2 separate regions of the Homo sapiens genome follow, and region 1 is linked to region 2. The links are contacts of gene promoters, found by promoter capture Hi-C in human tissues and cell types (Jung and others, 2019). All regions are on one chromosome and are shown on one strand. The core of a region is centred on a gene start or on the middle of the fragment in contact, and the rest is flanking DNA. Distances in the headings are between cores, read along the strand shown. Region 1 overlaps LSM14A (LSM14A mRNA processing body assembly factor). Region 2 holds the start of PDCD2L (programmed cell death 2 like).

Evidence for each region. The method cuts DNA at HindIII sites, captures the fragments that hold promoters and counts their contacts. A contact is called where the count stands out against the background at its distance.
Region 1: a contact is called between a fragment that was not itself captured here and the fragment with the promoter of PDCD2L in region 2, in 1 of the 25 tissues and cell types used here (mesendoderm cells).

The regions. Positions count from the first base shown.
Region 1 is chr19:34,192,352-34,197,993 of GRCh38, forward strand. It overlaps LSM14A (LSM14A mRNA processing body assembly factor), which reads left to right. Exons shown (of 10, transcript NM_015578.4): 2 at 2,127-2,290; 3 at 4,283-4,412. Among named protein-coding and RNA genes, the nearest start is that of LSM14A, 23 kb to the left of the region's middle. The HindIII fragment of the contact is 5,517 bases long and covers 1-4,474 here.
Region 2 is chr19:34,403,141-34,408,011 of GRCh38, forward strand. It overlaps PDCD2L (programmed cell death 2 like), which reads left to right and starts at 1,259. Exons shown (of 7, transcript NM_032346.2): 1 at 1,259-1,398; 2 at 1,509-1,675; 3 at 1,790-1,850. The coding sequence starts at 1,291. The HindIII fragment of the contact is 14,760 bases long and covers 1-4,871 here.

The DNA of each region.
Region 1 (5,642 bases), core at 466-2,965, 210 kb before region 2:
TTGTCATTCTGTCACCCAGGCTGGAGTGCAGGAGCGCCATCTTGGCTCACTGCAACTTCTGCCTCTTGAGTTCAGCCAATCCTCCCGCCTCAGCCACCTGAGCAGCTAGGACTACAGGTGCATGCCAACATGCCCAGCTAATGATTTTTTGTATTTTTAGTAGAGATGGGGTTTCACCATTTTGTTGAGGCCGGTGTCAAACTCCTGACCTCAAGTGATCTGCCCACCTTGGCCTCCCAAAGTGCTGGGATTGCAGGCATGAGGCGCTGCATCAGTTCTGCAAAAAAAAAAAAAAAAAAAAAAAAAAAAAAAAAAAGCGTATGCATTAAAAATACTAAGGGGGCCAGGCGCGGTAGCTCACGCCTGTGATGCCAGCACTTTGGGAAGCCGAAGCGGATGGATCACTTGAGGTCAGGAGTTCTAGACCAGTCTGGCCAACATAGTGAAACCCCATCTCCGCTAAAAAAAAATACAAAAATTAGCTGCGCATGGTGGCACACGCCTGTAATCCCAGCTGCTCAGGAGGCTGAGGCAGGAGAGTCGCTTGAACCCAAGAGGCAGAGGTTACAGTGAGCCAAGATTGCGTCACTGCACTCCAGCTGGGGCAACAGAATGAAACTCCATCTCAAAAAAAAAGAAAAAAAATAGAAATGTTAAGGGGTTTACTTCCTTTAGGGTACTCTTTAAATGAAATATGATGTTTCATATTCTCTATTTGGAACTTCTGTATGGATGCAGACATTTTCAGAAATCTCCCAGGACAATGAACCTGAAACTTATGTATTTATAAGAAACTTGGGGATTTGGTTATTTTATTTACTTATTTTGAAATAGGGTCTTGCTGTGTCACCCAGGCTGCAGTGCAGCCACGCTTCAGTACAGCCTCAATCTCCCAGGCTCAAGCGATCCTCATACCTCAGCCTCCTTATAGCTGGGACTACAGGCATGCACTACCACACCTGGCTAATTTTTAAAAATGTTTATTTTTTTGTAGAGACAGAACATCACTGTGTTGCTAGGGCTGGTCTCAAACTCCTGGGCTCAAGCAGTCCTCCCACCTTGGCCTCCCATAGTGCTGGGATTACAGGCATGAGCCACTGTGCCTAGCCAGAAATTGGCTTAAAATGCAGATTTTTGGACCCTGTCCCCAGCAAAAAGATTCGGTAGAAATCTTTATTCGTAGCCAGTTTACTGTGTTGCAGGTGGTCCCCAGTTTAACTTTGAGTAATGCTGTCTTCATTGTTAAAATAATCAGATTTAATTATATGGTAGATATTTTAGGTAACTAGGGTATTTCAAGCTGTCCCATGGGGCTGAGTAGCTGGCAGCTGCTTGACTTGGCTTCTAGAGGACTTACTGCTCAGCAAGGTAAATGTTATTAATACCTTCATTGCTCTCTGTGTCCCAAAGGTCAATACCCAAACTTTGAGATTTTGTAGACTGGAGGAATCTTTGTCTCCCACTCCTTCCCCAAGAAAGACATGGGTTGCTAATTTTTATTTTGTCGAATGAGGACATTAAAAATAAGTTAACCGTGAGCCAGGCACAGTGGCTTAGGCCTTTCATCCCAGCACATTGAGAGGCTAAAGCAGGAAGATCACTTGAGGCCAGGAGTTCAAGACCAGCCTGTGCAAAATAGCAAGACCTCATCTCTACTAAAAAATAAAAAAAGTTAGCTGGGCTTAGTGGCACATGCCTGTGGTCCCAGCTACGTGGGAGGTTGAGATAGAAGGATCGCCTGAGCCCGGGAAGCTGAGGCTGCAGGAAGCCATGACCACACCACTGCACTCCAGCCTAGGGGACAGAGACCCAGTCTCATCAATAAATAAATAATGAAAGGACATTTTAACACCCCACTACAACCACTAAAGATACAAATAAATAAAAATATAAGAGGAACACAACCTCATAATACAGATAGTCTTTTATATTGCATATATTTAACTTCGGGCAAAAGCCACTCTATTTTCCTCTTTAAAAAAACTTTTTTAGCTATAGATTAATGAATACTTTCTCAGACATTTCAGAACTACTGCTTAGTACTTGAAATACAACATTTAGAATCTGGGGTACTACCTGAATGTGATGAGTAGTCACACATCTCATATCCTTTGTTTTCTTGCCAGTTCGATCCTTTGGTACAGAAGACAGACCGACAGATCGTCCAATACCACCTCGAGATGAAGTCTTTGAATACATTATATTCCGTGGGAGTGACATTAAAGACCTTACTGTTTGTGAGCCACCAAAACCACAGTGTTCTTTGCCTCAAGACCCAGCTATTGTTCAGGTAACTGATGGTAAATTTGTCTTGGAGTACAGGTAAACTCCGCACAGGGTTAGCCTTGGCTTTTTTCTCTCTAGTTGAATGTTCATGTAGCTTATCATTTCCAAGTTACTGGGATACCTGAAATTACTGGATAATGTTCTCATCTAGGTTTTTCTCTTTGTATCATAAATTAGAACTAAGGTAAGAAACAGCTGAGGAATTTATTATGAAATATTTTCTAATTTCAACAACAATTACCATAGCTAACATTGAAGGCTACTCTGTAGAAGTGCTGTGCATATAAGATACCCTCTGAGGTTGGTACTATAATTATTCTCACTTTTAACAAGTGAGGAAGTTCAGATGGAGCCACAATTTGAACAGATCCAGGCAGCCTGCTTCAGAATCTAGGATCCGTGCTACCATGCTATTGAGATATGGTTTATATTGCAAACCAAGGCAATAACAGCTACTCTTAGGTAAGATTATTAGGCTTAATGGGGAAAAAAAAGCAAAATCACATTGTTCTGCATATGTTATAATATGCAGTGTTGGTTTTTGTTTTGTTTTTCTTTTTCTTTTTTTTTTTTTTTGACAGAGTCGTTGGAGTACAGTGGCGTGAACTCGGCTCACTACAACCTCCGCCTCCCAGGTTCAAGTGATTCTTCTGCCTCAGCCTCCTGAGTAGCTGGGATTACAGGCATGCACCACCACACCCGGCTAATTCTTGTATTTTTAGTAGAGATGAGGTTTCACCATGTTGGCCAGCCTGGTCTCAAACTACTGACCTCAGGTGATCCGCCCACCTCAGCCTCCCAAAGTGCTGGGATTACAGGCATGAGCCACTGTGCCTGGCCTGCAATGTTATATAATAAGAAAACACAAACATCAATGTATTTTAACATATTTAGATCAGCTCTTAAATCTCCCAATTTAAGCTTTTTAATAAGGAATTGTAAATTTTGTTGCAGCATAAGCTGGAGAAATTCTCTACTCTCATCTACCCCTACCCTTGTTAAGTCTTATTTTGGTGAAAGGAAGCCTGAAGTGGAAATGTGAATCTCTTTAAATGGAGAAGGAAGAGACACATTCTTAATAGAGATAGCTCCCTACACCAAACACTGGAGTTACCTTACTGTCTCTTTTATATGGCTTTTGATAATTCTCCAGGAAACCAGTTATTTGAGTAATCGGTTTTATGGAAGGAGAAAAACTAAGAGAGCGCATATGAAAATGGTGTTGAATAACTTCTTCCAATCATCATAAACTTCTACTTGATCTCCTTATTCATTCATTCAGTAGTATTTACAGAGTATCTGGCATGTGCTTAACACTAGTGGTGAACACACAGAAAAGGTCCTGCCATCAGTGAGTGTATGTCCTGGTAGCCTTTAATACACTTCATGTTTATATTATGAAACAGTTTATAGTAAGATAATATATGAAGTATACATGTATTAATATATGTTATATATTTTATATGCTTTAGGTTTAAGTTAAAGTTTTTATAAAATGTTCCTCAGCTTAATGTAACTATAAGTAAAAATGTAAATGGTTTTATGTGGGATATGTTTGTTTCTACGTCTGTGAATTTAATAGTAGGCCTCAAATGATTGAAAATAAGAGTAAAATCATACGTGAGATTTATATCAACATCAGACTAAAACTCATTATTACTAAGTGTGATTTTTCTCATATTTTTCTTTAAGCAAAGTTACTTTACTTAAGTAACTTTAATTCTTTCCTCAATCTATAAAACTCTTAATTCAAATGGGGAGTTTATTGTAGAAAAAAGTATTTGTAAGTCACATTGAGTATAATTGGCACATTATAGACAGATACTGAAATCAAAAGGTTGTTTGGCTATTTTAATATTAAGTGCATATTGTAATTCATTTTATATCTAGTAGTTATAATTTAATAGTTTTCTTAAAAGTAAAAATCTGGAATTTTTTTTTTCGTTATATACATGTTGCTTAGAGCTTGGAAACATAACTCATGATTTTCCTTCAGTCCTCACTAGGCTCATCGACTTCTTCATTCCAGTCCATGGGTTCTTATGGACCTTTCGGCAGGATGCCCACATACAGTCAGTTCAGTCCGAGTTCCTTAGTTGGGCAGCAGTTTGGTGCTGTTGGTGTTGGTATGTTTTCTTTTTCTTTTCTTTTTTTGTTTTTGTATTCTTCCTTTCTTTACCACAAAGGTATAGAAACTCAACACCAACTATTAGAAATGTTGTTTGATGTTCCTTTTGTAACTTTGTTTTATGGTATTCAGAACACATTTTGATGATATCTTAAAGCCTTTATTGATATTAGTGGGTTTTTAAAAGTCAGCTTTCACAGAGTAACATTTTTTTTTACTAGGTAAAAAAAAAATGGATATACTAGGTATATCCAATATCTACCAAATCTACCAAATTGGATATACTAGGTATATCCAATATCTACCAAATCTTATTGGTAATTGGTTTTGTTTTGTTTTTTTTAAAGACAAAGTCTCACTCTGTCACTCAGGCTGGAGTCCAGTGGCACTATCTTGGCTCACTACAACTTCCACCTCGTGGGTTTAAGCAATTCTCGTGCCTCAGCCTCCCAGATAGCTGAGATTACGATATGCATCACCACACCCAGCTAATTTTTGTATTTTCAGTAGAGGTGGAGTTTCACTGTGTTGGCCAGGCAGGTCTTGAACTCCTGACCTCAGGTGATCCACCTGCTTCGGCCTCCCAAAGTGCTAGGATTACAGGTGTGAGCCACTGCGCCTGGCCTGGATTTTAATTAATAAATTTTTCTTTTTAATTTCTTTTTCTTTTTTTTTTTTTTTTTTTTTTTCTGAGGCAGAGTCTTGCTCTGTTGCCCAGGCTAGAGTGCAGTGGCATGATCTCCGCTCACTGCAACCTCCACCTCCCAGGCTTAAGCAGTGCTCCTGCCTCAGCCTCCTGAGTAGCTGGGATTACAGGTGTGCGCCACCACTCCCAGCCAATTTTTTTGTATTTTTAGTAGAGATGGGGTTTCACCATGTTGGCCAAGCTGGTCTCGAACTCCTGACCTCAAGTGATCCACCCACCTCAGCCTCCCGAAGTGCTGGGATTACAGGCGTGAGCCACCAAGCCCGGCCTAAAACATTTAAAAATGTTTATTTTAAACATACATAAGACATGCACACATAAAGATACGCATAGCATGATTGAGGGCTTGGTGTTTTGTTTCTGTAACACTGGATTTGAAACGAAACTATAATGAGAATGTATAGCAGGGCTGGGCGAATGACAGGCTTGCTTATGACTGGAGGGTCAAGGGCTATTGAGTGCAAAAGCTGGATGTAATCAGATTAGCTCAGTGTTTTGTTTTTATAGCTATGCATTTTAGCG
Region 2 (4,871 bases), core at 9-2,508:
GGGCGCGGTGGCTCACACCTGTAATACTAACACTTTGGGAGGCCGAGGTGGGCAGATCACTTGATTTCAGGAGCTCGAAACCAGCCTGGCCAACATGGTGAAACCCCGTCTCTACTAAAAATACAAAAAAGGCCGGGCATGGTGGCTCACGCCTGTAATCCCAGCACTTTGGGAGGCCAAGGTGGGCGGATCACCTGAGGTTGGGAGTTCGAGACCAGCCTGACCAACATGGAGAAACCCCATCTCTATTAAAAATACAAAATTAGCCAGGCATGGTGGCACATGCCTGTAATCTCAGCTACTCGGGAGGCTAAGGCAGAAGAATCGCTTGAACCTGGGAGGCAGAGGTTGCAGTGAGCTGGGATCACGCCAGTGCACTCCAGCCTGGGCGACAAGAGCGAAACTCCGTCTAAAAAAAAAAAAAAAAAAAAAGCCGGGCGCCGGGCGTGGTGGTGGGCGTCTGTAACCCCAGCTACTGGGTGGGGCTGAGGCAGGAGAATCACTTGAACCTGGGAGGCTGAGATGCAGTGAGATGGCGCCACTGCACTTCAGCCTGGGCGACCCAGCAAGACTCTGTCTCAAAAACAAAACAAAACAAAACAAAAATAAAAACTGAAAAATCTCAAACATATAAAACCCAAATAGAATAAATCTCCATGTGCCTGGCACCAAATTTCAACAATTATCAACTCATGGTCAATCTTACTGTATTTACACCCCACCACCTTAATTATGTAGTAGCAAATCGGAGGTATTTCATCTATAAGCATTTTGGTGTGTTTCTCTAAAAATTAAAAACTTTAACTTTTTAAAAAACTTTATTGTTCTTGTTAATGACTGATAATACCATTATCCCACCTAAAATTTTTATTTTCCGGGAAGGCTTTTTTCTGGTGGCTCACACCTGTAATCGCAACACTTTGGGAGGCGGAGGCGGGAGGATCGCTTGAACCCCAGGAGTTCAAGACCAGTGTGGGCAATATAGCAAGTCCTCGTCTCAGGAAAAAAAGGAAAAAAGAAAGTTAGCTTTTTGGCAAAACTACTTCCTAGTAGATGGTGTGTACTTCCTATCACAGCGCATTAAGGGGCACATAATGCCTGGGACTCCGGGATTTCGAGCCCCTGACGCCAGCGGCGCCTCTGTGGCTCTGGGACCTGAGCGCACGCGCCTTAAAGCCACGCCTCCGCATCGGATCCTAGTAAGGGAGCGGGGTTATCATTTTAGCGTAGCGTTGCGCGTGCGCAGAGAGGCCGCCGTAGTTTGCGTTTTCACCTGGTCGCCCGGCGGCCATGGCGGCCGTTCTGAAGCCGGTGCTGCTGGGCCTTCGAGATGCGCCGGTGCACGGCAGCCCCACAGGGCCGGGTGCCTGGACTGCTAGCAAGCTGGGCGGCATTCCGGTGAGGGCGGGTGCCGGAGCTGGGGTCGATGGGTGCTGCTGAAGGGTGCGGAGGGAGTGGGCGAGGTCCTGGGGGGAGTCGGGGTCTGAGCGCCTCCTCTGTCCCCTCAGGATGCTCTGCCCACCGTGGCTGCGCCCAGGCCCGTGTGTCAGCGCTGCGGGCAGCCGCTCGCTCTGGTCGTGCAGGTGTATTGCCCGCTGGAAGGCTCCCCGTTTCACCGTCTGCTGCACGTGTTCGCGTGCGCCTGCCCCGGCTGTAGCACCGGCGGTGCGCGCAGGTAGGCGGGGAAGTCCCAGAGCTGCTCCAGGGGTGTCCTTTCCAGCGGGCTGGGGCGGGCCGGCGGGCTGGAGTCGGGGTGCAGCCCTCACGGCCCTTTGTCTTCACCCCGAAGCTGGAAGGTGTTCCGCTCCCAGTGCCTGCAGGTGCCAGAGAGAGAGGCGCAGGACGCTCAGGTAAAGGTTGTGATTGGCATGTTATTGTTTTTCTGTCATTTGAGGATATTTTCCAGAGAATAGTTTGGGGCAGACTTTAAAGCCGTGTTCTTTGAAGTACACTGGAGTGTTTTTTGCTTTTCTGAAGAACCATAAAATGCTATTTTCGTAAAGTTTTTTTTTTTTTTTTTTTTTGAGACGGAGTTTCGCTCTGTCGCCCAGGCTGGAGTGCAATGGCGCGATCTCGGCTCACCGCAACCTCCGCCTCCCAGGTTCAAGCGATTCTCCTGCCTCAGCCTCCCTAGTAGCTGGGATTACAGGCATATGCCACCACGCCCGGCTAATTTTGTATTTTTAATAGAGACGGGGTTTCGCCATGGTGGTCAGGCTGGTCTCGAACTGCCGACCTCAGGTGATCCACCCGCCTCGGCCTCCCAAAGTGCTGGGATTACAGGCATGAGCCACCGCGCCCGGCCTTTCTTAAGGTTTTGTGAGAGTTTTTTTTTTCTTCTATTTTACTTTATTTTTATTTTCTAACTCCTTTGTTAAAAGGAGATGGAGGCCCAGCATGGTGGCTCACGCCTGTGATCCCACCGTTTTTTGAGAGGCTGAAGTGGGAGGATTGCTTGAGCTCAGAAGTTGGAGACCAGGCTGGGCGCGGTGGCTTACGCCTGTAATCCCAGCACTTTGGGAGGCCGAGGCGGGCGGATCTCCTGAGGTCAGAAGTTCGAGACCAGCCTGGCCAACATGGCGAAACCCCGTCTCTATTAAAAACAAAAACAAAAAATTAGCCGGGCATGGTGGCAGACACCTGTAATCCCAGCTACAAGGGAGGTTGAGGCAGGAGAATCGCTTGAACCCGGGAGACAGAGATTGCAGTGAGCTGAGATCATGCCACTGCACTCCAGCGTGGGTGACAGACTCCGTAAAAACAAAACAAAACAAAACAAAAGAAAAAAAAAACGTTGGGAGAGCAGTCTGGGCAACATAGCAAAACATCGTCTCTATAAAAAGTAAACAAATTAGCCAGGCATGATGGCCACGCAACTGTAGTGCCAGCTACTCAGGAGGCTGAGGTAGGAGGATTGCTTGAGTCTAGGAGGTTGAGGCTGCAGTGACCTACACTTGTGCCACTGCACTCCGGCCTGGGCCACAAAGCCAGACCCTGTCCCCTGCCAAAAAAACAAAAGGGAGATGGAGACTTCCTCCTGGATTTCTTCAACTTTTTTTTTTAACTGTAAATTGACAGTTTATAATAATGTATAAATTTATGAGGTATAAAGTGATGGCTATGATTCATGAATATCATGTGGAATAATTAAATGAAGCTAGTTAATGCATTCATCACCTCAAATACTTAACATCTTGTGAGAACATTTGAAATTTCCTCTAGCAATTTGGAGATACACAATACTCTTATTTTTTTTTTTTTTTGAGACGGAGTCTTGCTCTGTTGCCCAGGCTGGAGTGCAGTGGCGCCGTCTCTGCTCACTGCAAGCTCCACCTCCTGGGTTCACACCATTCTGCCTCAGCCTCCAGAGTAGCTGGGACCACAGGCGCCCGCCACCACGGCCAGCTAATTTTTTCATTTTTTTAAATTTTTAGTAGAGACAGGGTTTCACCATGTTAGCCAGGATGGTATTGATCTCGTGACCTTGTCATCCACCCACCTCGGCCTCCCAAAGTGCTGGGATTACAGGCTTGAGCCCCTGTGCCCAGCCACAATACTCTATTATTAACTATATTCATGCTGTGCAGTAGAACTTAAAAAAAACCCACATTCCTCCTGAATAACTGAGGTTTTGTATTCTTTGACCGTCATCTCCTTATTCTTCCCGCTCCAGGTTTCTTTCTTCCTTTTTTTTTTTTTTTTTTTTTTTGAGACCGAGTTTCGCTCTTGTTGCCCATGCTGGAGTGCAATGGCACAATCTCAGCTCACTGCAACCTCCACCTCCCGGATGCAAGCGCTTATCCTGCCTGCCTCAGCCTCCCTAGTAGCTGGGATTACAGGCACTCGCCACCACGCCCAGCTAATTTTTATATTTTTAGTAGAGAAAGGGTTTCACCATGTTGGCCAGGCTGGTCTTGAACTCCTGACCTCAGGCAACCCACCCGCCTCGGCCTCCCAAAGTGCTGGGATTACAGGCGTGAGCCACCATGCCCGGCTCACTCCAGATTTTTTTTTTTCTTTGAGATGGAGTTTCGCTTTGTTGCCAGGCCGGAGTGCAGTAGCACAATCTTGGCTCACTGCAGCCTCCGCCTCCCAGGTTCGAGCAATTCTCCTGCCTCAGCCTCCTGAGTACCTGGGACTACAGGCACACACCACCATGCCCAGCTAATTTTTGTATTTTTAGTAGAGATGGGGTTTCACCGTGTAGCCAGGATGGTGTCGATCTCTTTACCTCGTGATCCACCCGCCTTGGCTTCCTGAGGTGCTGGGATTACAGGCGTGAGCCACCACACCTGGCCACTCCAGATTTCTTTAACCACCACTCTACTCTCTACTTCTTTGAGGTTGTTTTAGATTCCACATATAAGTGAATACATGCAGCATTTGTCTTTGTGTCTGGCTTATTTCCCTTAGCAAAATGTTCTCCAGTTCCATCCATGTTGTCACAAATGACAGAATTTCCTTTTTTTTTTTAAGGGTGAAAAATATTCCATTGTATATATAGTAGTTTTTTTAAACTTACACTGAAGGTCTTGAGACACACAGTTTACTGATTTTCCTGTTTGGGAATATATATGGGTGTGTACATATATGTGGTTGTATGTGATAATGTATACGTGTCTTTATAGTAAATATACTTTATGAGAGCTATATATGTATTAACACATTTCATAAGATGAAATCTGAATTTATTGAAAAGGCAGGCAAGTTGGTAGCTGCAGAACACAATTTAGCCTCCCTTTGACTGTAAATGTGTCTTTATATATACACTGAGTTTGTTTGTTTGTTTGTTTGTTTTTTGAGATGGGGTTGCATTCTGGTCACCCAGGCTGGAGTGCAGTGGCATGATCTCTGCCTCTTGGGCCCAAGCC